Regions from separate parts of the Homo sapiens genome. Here all the other regions are linked to region 2. Evidence: promoter capture Hi-C in human tissues and cell types (Jung and others, 2019). All regions are on one chromosome and are shown on one strand. Each heading gives the region's core, a stretch centred on a gene start or on the middle of the fragment in contact. The rest is flanking DNA. Distances are from core to core; before and after follow the strand shown.

Evidence for each region. Contacts are between HindIII fragments. The study calls those that stand out against the background at their distance.
Region 1: a contact is called between a fragment that was not itself captured here and the fragment with the promoter of ZSCAN25 in region 2, in 1 of the 25 tissues and cell types used here (lymphoblastoid cells).
Region 3: a fragment that was not itself captured here is called in contact with the fragment with the promoter of ZSCAN25 in region 2 in 1 of the 25 tissues and cell types used here (aorta).

What each region holds. Positions count from the first base shown.
Region 1 is chr7:99,790,459-99,793,158 of GRCh38, reverse strand. No RefSeq gene overlaps it. Among named protein-coding and RNA genes, the nearest start is that of CYP3A4, 7.6 kb to the right of the region's middle. RefSeq lists enhancers at 1-151, 1,256-1,270, 1,153-2,700, a cis regulatory region at 1,699-1,719 and a promoter at 1-2,700. The HindIII fragment of the contact is 3,979 bases long and covers 1-2,700 here.
Region 2 is chr7:99,615,681-99,618,380 of GRCh38, reverse strand. It overlaps ZSCAN25 (zinc finger and SCAN domain containing 25), which reads right to left and starts at 1,435. Exons shown (of 8, transcript NM_145115.3): 1 at 1,365-1,435. RefSeq lists enhancers at 1,400-1,719, 1,310-2,289. The HindIII fragment of the contact is 7,246 bases long and covers 1-1,621 here.
Region 3 is chr7:99,749,301-99,752,000 of GRCh38, reverse strand. It overlaps the pseudogene CYP3AP2. Among named protein-coding and RNA genes, the nearest start is that of CYP3A4-AS1, 13 kb to the left of the region's middle. The HindIII fragment of the contact is 4,835 bases long and covers 1-2,700 here.

The DNA.
Region 1 (2,700 bases), core at 194-2,693, 170 kb before region 2:
CTTCTTTATTAGCAGTAATTGAAACTGCCTCGATACAGACACTGTACCTTGCAACCAAAAAATGACTCAACAATGATAATAAGGGTTAAGCTGGGCCTTTCTCTCTTTGCCAGTTAAATTATATTTATTATAGCTTGACATGAAAAACAAAGCAACTCCAACAGGTATCACAAGGGCAAAGGACATGAACATTTTATCAAAGAAGAAATGCAGCTGTCAAAAATACAGAAATATTCAACCTTGTTCATAATAAAGTGGCTGGGCTCAGTGGTTCATGCCTGTAATCCCAGTGCTTTGCAAGGCTGAGACAGGAGGATCATTTGAAGCCAGAAGTTCAAGACCATCCTAGGCAAGTCAGTTCAATACCAGACTTCATGTCTACAAAACATCAAAAAATTAGCCAGGCATGGTGATGCATGCCTGTTGTCCCAGCTACTCAGGAGGCTGAGGCAGGAGAATTGCTTGAGCCTGGGAGGCTGCGGTGGCGGTGAGCCATGATTGTGCCATTGTACTCCAGCCTGGGCAATGCAGCAAGACTGTCTAAATAACAAAAATAATAGTAAAGAAAAGGATTGGGATGCCATTTCTTGCGTATTCAATACACAGAGTTAAAAGTAATTTCTACGTTTTCTATTTTTTTATTACTAAAAAAAGCTGGACCATTCTCACAGCCTGAAATGCTTCTCACTTTCCCTTCTTCTGTCCAAACACTTCTCTATGATAATGCAAACAGTCACTCCTTTAGGAAGACTTCACCCCAGGTAGTTCCAGATCCCCTTATCTCTGCCTTCCCAGAACTCCTGGTGTCTCTCCAGTTCCCTCCGTGTGGTGAAGTACCCTACCTAGGGTTTCAGTATGGCTCTGTCTGCAAAGGTCTTGTTCACACCTTCCCTTATGGTTCTGTTGCCCTGTGTTGTGTCATAGCACAGGGCACAGTGGAGAACCCATTCACACTGATAGAGAGGGCCCCATGGTCCTGGAGATAACCATGTAACCGATCAGAATAGGGCATTGAGGGCTGGGTGTCAGGCGTGGGCTGCACTTGGGTGGGCAGGTCCCCTGGAAAGTCACTGGGTTTGGCAAGCTTCCTAGTAACATGTCTCTCTGGGGTCCCCTTGGAACTTCATGCAAAAATGCTGGTTGCTGGTTTATTCTAGAGAGATGGTTCATTCCTTTCATTTGATTATCAAAGAAACTCATGTCCCAATTAAAGGTCATAAAGCCCAGTTTGTAAACTGAGATGATCTCAGCTGAATGAACTTGCTGACCCTCTGCTTTCCTCCAGCCTCTCGGTGCCCTTGAAATCATGTCGGTTCAAGCAGCCTCATGAGGCATTACAAAGTTTAATTATTTCAGTGATTATTAAACCTTGTCCTGTGTTGACCCCAGGTGAATCACAAGCTGAACTTCTGACAAGAACAAGCTATCATATTCTTTTCAATTACAGAAAAAAGTAAGTTAATTGATAGGATTTTTTTTGTTTAAAAAAAATGTTACTAGTTTTGAAAAGGTAATATGTGCACATGGTAAACACTAAGAAGGTATAAGAGCATAATGCTTTTATACTACTAAGAATAATGTTTTCTCTAAGTTTTTTTTGGTAGATGCTTTCATCAGATTAAGAAAATTCCCTGCTATTAGTTGTTGAAGGTTTTTATATCATAAATGAAAGTTGAATATTATTATCATATATTATTAATATATTGTTATTGAACTATCAAAGCCTTTTCCTAAAACCATTGAGATGATCTTATAACCATTCTCCTTTAACCTGTTGACGATATCATTGGTATTTATACTATTTCTCTGTTAACCATTCTTGAGTCTCAGGTTTAAATTCAACTTGGTCATGGTGTGTCATCTTTGATCATTGCTGTCTGTGGCTTGCTACTGTTTTGTTTAGGATTTTTGCACTGATGCTCATCAATGAGACTGGCATGCCATCTTCCTTTGCAGTCCTGATTTTTTTCTGATTTGGATCATGTGGTTATGGCCCTCATGGAATGAGTTGGGCATGATGCCTTTTTTTCATGTCTCTGGATTGATGGGACACTTTGGATTCTCTCCAGATGGCCCTCAATGGTCCCTGCCTCCTCATTGTTAGGCCCCTGGGCAAGCCCTTCTCATTTCTGGTAGGCCCAGGAACCTGTGGGGGTTTTGTTTGTTTGTTTGTTTCTTGAGTCGGAGTCTCACTCTGTCACCCAGGCTGGAGTTGGAGTGCAATGGCCCGATCTTGGCTCACTGCAACCTCCACCTCCCAGATTCAAGCAATTCTCCTGCCTCAGCCTCCTGAGTAGCTGGGATTACAGGCACCCACCGACACACCCTGCTAATTTTTGTATTTTTAGTACAGATGGGGTTTCACAATATTGGCCAAGCTGGTCTCGAACTCCTGATCTCATGATCTGCCCGGCTTGGCCTCCCAAAGTGTTGAGATTACAAGCATGAGCCACCACACCCAGTGAACCTGTGGTTTTTAGAAGCTCCCCATGCATGTGAATGCTGTGAGCATCCCAGGATGACAGCCACTGTGTGTTCAGCTGTTGGAACTGTGAGAAAGCACCAGTGGGACCCTCTCCAGCACCTGCCTGCTGAGGTCATGGAAGAGGCTTGTTGGGGAGATGATGCCCTGGCTGACTCCTGAAGGATGGTTAGGAATGCACCAGATGGAAGCTGGGTTGGACCCACTCTATGCTGAAG
Region 2 (2,700 bases), core at 186-2,685:
CCTCCTACTTCTCAGAAGAAAAAAAAGAGACTAGATGATAACTGCCTCCCAAAATACATGGTACAGATTGAAAAAAAAATGTGAAGTCAAAAAGAGAGAAAACTAATCTAAGTCCAAGTACTCAAGGAAAAGAAGAGGCTTGAAGTAGACTGGAGAATGAGTCCTATTTACCTCCAAGTGGATTATGCGGAAGACCTAGACTGGGAAGACAGACTTGGAAGTCCAAAGCACCAGGGGAAGGAGATCCTGCTTGTCAGAAAACGGAAAGATCACCTGACTGGAGCAGAGAATGGGCAGCTGGCAGGAGGCACACCCCAAAGCTTCTGCTAAATATTCTATTGTGAGTTTGTGTATTTATCTACCCCCACTTAAACCAAGTTTATATTTTCAGTCTATTCATTGACTCTGCAACATTGAGATTTCTCTTTCATTCCTTTCTAGCTATTGCATTGGTTCACTCCACTAGTGCATTTAATGCACTACAGTGCAAATGTTTACCCATGTGTCTCCCTCTAACAGATTCCCTGGAGGCAAGAAAGATCCTCATTCATCTTTTATCTCTGCCATTTGACAAATAGAAATTGCCCCATTGCTATTCTTTATCTCCCCCCACCCATTGTGACTCTTTTGTTTTGTTTCTGAGACAGGATCTCAGGGTTTTATCACCCCAGCTGGAGACCAGTGGTGCGATCACTGCAGCCTTTGCCTCCTAGGATCAAGCGATCCTCCCACCTCAGCCTCCCGAGTAGCTGGGACTACTGGCGAGTGCCACCATGACCAGCTAATTATTTATTTTTGTAGAGACAGGGTCTCCCCATGTTGCCCAGGCTGGAGTGCAGCGGCATGAATGTAAGTCAGTGCAACCTTGAACTCCTGGGCTCAGGCGATCCTCCTGCCTCAGCCTCCCGAGTAGCTGGGACCTCAGGCGCGTGCCACCACGCCCGGCTACTTTTCAATTTTTGTAGAGACAGGGTCTCGCTATGTTGACCAGGCTGGCTCATCACTATTCTTTAAATAAGTGTCCTATGTGATTACTTTCACTTTGCACAGAGTTCTGCTTTGGTTCAAGATCTCTTCGGGTTCGTGGCCAGCCCTGCACTAAGCCAAGCCTGGCAGAGCGGGATCAGCCTCGCTCCTACCTGAGCCTACAGCGCGGCGGCCCCTCAGCGTCCAGACCCGCAGGGCCTCGGGGCCGCTGAAGGCAGCTCCTGAGAGACTTGCCGCCCTCAGCCGGGGCTGAGCGGAGGGAGACGGGCTCTACTGCAACCCCGCTGCCGCCGAGCCCCGTAGCGGCACCAAAACCCGTCCCCGCGCCCGTTTACCACTTCGCCCGCCACCCGCTGCGGCCCTGAAGAGGCTCTCACCCGCCGCGGCCCTGAAGGGCCTCTCACCCGCTAGGGTCGCCAGTGCTATCCGCGGTCCGGAAGTGAGCTGCGGACGCTGTTAGACAGGTGCGTAAGGAAAGACTCGCTTCCGTGTCCTCTCTAGGATGCTCGGAGGTCTCGGCGGATGCGTCTCGATGGTTGCTGATCCCAGCCTGCTGTTCCGAACCCGGCGAGGCGAAGACCACCAGGGCTTCCCCAGGATTGACTGCCCAGCTCGAGGCGCTCTGTGGCTAGGCCCCTTCCACTTCCGTGCCATTTCACCTGCTTGCCCTCCGTGGAAAGGACTCGGTGCATCGCCAGATACACTACTGGACACAGCACCTGCCCCAAGGGGCTTTAGAGTCCAGTCGGTCAATGCGCGACTATTCCGGCTGCGAGGGCCTTGCGCGAGGCGTAGGGGCAGAGGAGATAGGGGGCGCACTGGATCTAACCGGCTCACTTAAGAGGCTCCTGACCCCGGGTAGTGTGCGTGCGTGTGTGTATGTGTAGTCAGGGAAGGCTTCCTGGAGGAGCCAGCATCGGAGCTGTTTTTTGTGGGGGGTTTTTGTTTGTTTGTTTGTTTGTGTTTTTTGAGAAAGAGAGAGAGAAGTCTTGTTCTGTCTCCCAGGATGGAGTGCAGTGGTGAGATCATAGCTCACTGCAACCTCGAAGCCCTGAGTTCAAGCAATCCTCCCACCTCAGTCTCCTGGGTAGCTGGGACTTTTTTTCAATTTTTTGCAGAGAGGGGGATCTCTCTATGTTGCCCAATCTGGTCTCCAACTTCTGGACTCAAGCGATCTTCCCCCCTTGGCCTCCCAAAGTGCTAGGACTGCAGGCGCAAGCCACCGCGTCCAGCCTGAAGGCAGTCTGTCTCAACTGGGTGGCCCAGTGTTACTCCAGAATCCACTCAGGAAACAGGAAACCCTCTTGTCTTACTCTTCTCCAGCACTTTGCAAAGTGTCTGGTACAATATTTGCTAAAAATATACACTTATAGAGTAAATGAACTCCTAGAATATAACATAGGTGTTAGACCATCTCACTTTATCCTCCATGTCTCTGTCCCACTTTCATATTTTTCTTGTCTGCCCATATTTGACTTGGGTTTATGTCTTCACCTTTTTATTAATAATCCACTTTTCAGCTGTTTCTAATGTGCTACAAAATCCACAGTTGTTGTTTTTTTGTTTTGTTTTGTTTTGTTTTTTAAGAGACGAGGTCTTGCTGTGTCACCTAGGCTGGAGTACAGCGGTGCTATCATAGCTCACTACAGCTTCCAACTCCTGGGTTCAAGCAATCCACCTCAGCTTCCCAAATAGCTGGGACTACAGGCATGA
Region 3 (2,700 bases), core at 73-2,572, 130 kb before region 2:
TTCTGGGTTCTCTGTCTGCTGGAAGAGATGTGTAGAAGTTTGTCCCCTGTGGACCTGGTGGTTCCTGCTCCCCCAACTTCCACCCCAGGATATCATTTACATAACGCACCGGGGAACACCAAGACTTCACGGGAAGCTGTCCCCCGGCTCTTCCCTCTTTCCTGTGCCATGTCCCAAAACATCCCCTCCCACCTATGACTCACTCCTCCACCCTGTCATACACAGAACTATTTACCTTGCAATGATTAATCTCCAGAGCAAAGGAGACTTGGAGGAAGTTTTGAAGATTTATTCTTTGCTTTAATCTTTTTCCTCCCGTCTCTGGGAGGCTAGCATTAATATAGAGCTTTGTTTCTCACCTAATGGGAATCTGCTAGCAGCCTGAAAAGGCAGGAGCTGTGAAAGCCAATTTGGATTTTACACATTTTTTCCCCTTTGTGTTACAGTAAAGGAGGATGAACCCTCTCACTGGTGGGATTCCTGGCATCCTAGAGCAGGTGGAGAGAAGAGTTACTTCCCACTGTGGGTAGTGGAGGCTCCACCTGTTCCATTAACTTCTACCTCAATTTGACTTTTATTAAGAGCAGGGAACCACAATGACATGAAAATAGACACTATAAAACTAATTTTAATTCTTTCACAGAAAGCTTAGGAATTCAGTGAATAGTGGCAACATAGTTTCCATTTTCTAACATTTTAAAATAAATTGATATGGTTTAAATTCATTCATTTTTAAACCAGAATTTTTTGGAGATAGACTATTTCCAGCATGTTCCTTCTGGATGATAAAAGAGGGCTGTTAGTTCAGTATTTGTGACAATAAATGTGTGTAAAATAACATCACCTTTCCAGAATAATATCAGGAATATGAGTCTAATACATGAATGTATATCTCTAAGACAAGACTGCATATGTCTTTTTAAATATACATGCCTGACAGTTTATTGTAATACCTCCTTTTTGAATATACCTGCTTAGCAGGCTACCTTAAACTCTCAGGCAGGGGAGTAAGCAATACTGTGAGCTAGTGATGATAGCAAAGGCATCCAGATAGGATCTGCATGAAGTGAGAAAATATTCCTCAGCTCTCAGGGTAGAACTCCAAAGAGATATTCATGGGTCCTGGCCCCACAGTGGAGGTCACTCAAAGGGCAAACAGATTGGCATCTCATCTGCTTCAAGCCTGGATACAGGGACATCAAATGTGTCACTCTGTGTGTGGTCTGCCATGTTGTGGGGAGGCCACTACAGACTCGGGCAGCTGGGCAGACAATACCTTAGCCTTAGACGATGCTAGTGTAGCCCAGGAATCAGAAACTATAGTGTAGACCGTGCCCTCCTTAGGCCAACACAATTACATGCAATAGATGACGGGCTTTTCTGTTAGCCTCTTCATTGGAACTGAAAGTGGCATTACTCTACCAAACAGAGGAGAGCTGGAAAGAAACTAAACAGTTTGCCCAGCACAGCCTCTGCCTTGACATGGAACCATGTGAGTCTAGACACTCACCTAGATCTTTCCCTGGGGGCCAATGCTGCTGACACATTAACTCATTAGTTTGTCCTGGCCTGAGAGATCATGTAACATGTAGAAGGTTTAGAAGCAGAGATTAGTGTCATTAATTTGCCATGGCTGTGACAACAAAGGAAGAAACTGGGGTGGGAAACCCCAAGGCCACCCTGGTTTTGGTAGATGGTGCACACACTTCCACTAACTATTCTGGGGCAAGGATCCAAATGCACTATATGCTGCCTCTGCTGGGATCTCCAAACACGACCCTCCATGCCATTTCTCAGTTGTATTTTACCACATATTATCAGAGTCACTGGATTTGTACAGAATGTTTGGAACCTATACTGCCTTAAGTGCTACCTGTTATAGAAGAGAAAACAAGGTCTTAATTCAACTATCTGGAACATTTTATGGTTACTTATGTAAAATACTGCATCTTTTGCTATCAACAGGAAGGTACATGGACATTAGAAGGCCCCTGCCTTTCAGCTGAAAGCACATATGAGGCATATGGATCCATTTATATACACCATACTTTTCAGCTGCATTTTCCTAATTTGCCTCTCTGGGGCCAACCTTGTGGGACTAGCAGATTCACGGTTGAATTGATGGCTGGTGATGTCTGCCATCAGCCTTTCTTCTTCCTCTAGTCCTCCGCTCCTCAGTAACATCAGACTGGGAAGGTCTTCAGACATCCAGAACCCCCAGTTGGGGGAGTCCATACATGACCCATCAAAGATGAGTTGCAAGCAGGCCTGCCATAAAGAGCAGCAGCCTTAATGGGTTTTCCTACAGAGATAGTCAATGTACAGAGGCAATAAACTGACTGCTTTGTGATTGATCACCTTGAAAAAATGAGCATGTCTGGATATATTAGTCATTTCTTGCATTGCTGTAAAGAAATACCTGAGGCTGGGTAATTTATAAAGAAAAGAGATTTAATTGGCTCATAGTTCTGCAGGCTCTACAGGAAGCATAGCGACTTCTGCCTCTAGGGAGGCCTCAGGAAATTTACAATCATGGCAGAAGGTGAAGGAGGAGCAGGCGGATCTTACATGGCTGTAGTAGAAGCAAGAGAGGGTGGGGAGGAGGAGCCACACACTTATAAACCACCAGATCTCATAAAAACTCATTGTCACGAGGACAACAGCGAAGGCAGGATGGTGTGAAACCATGAGAAACTGCCC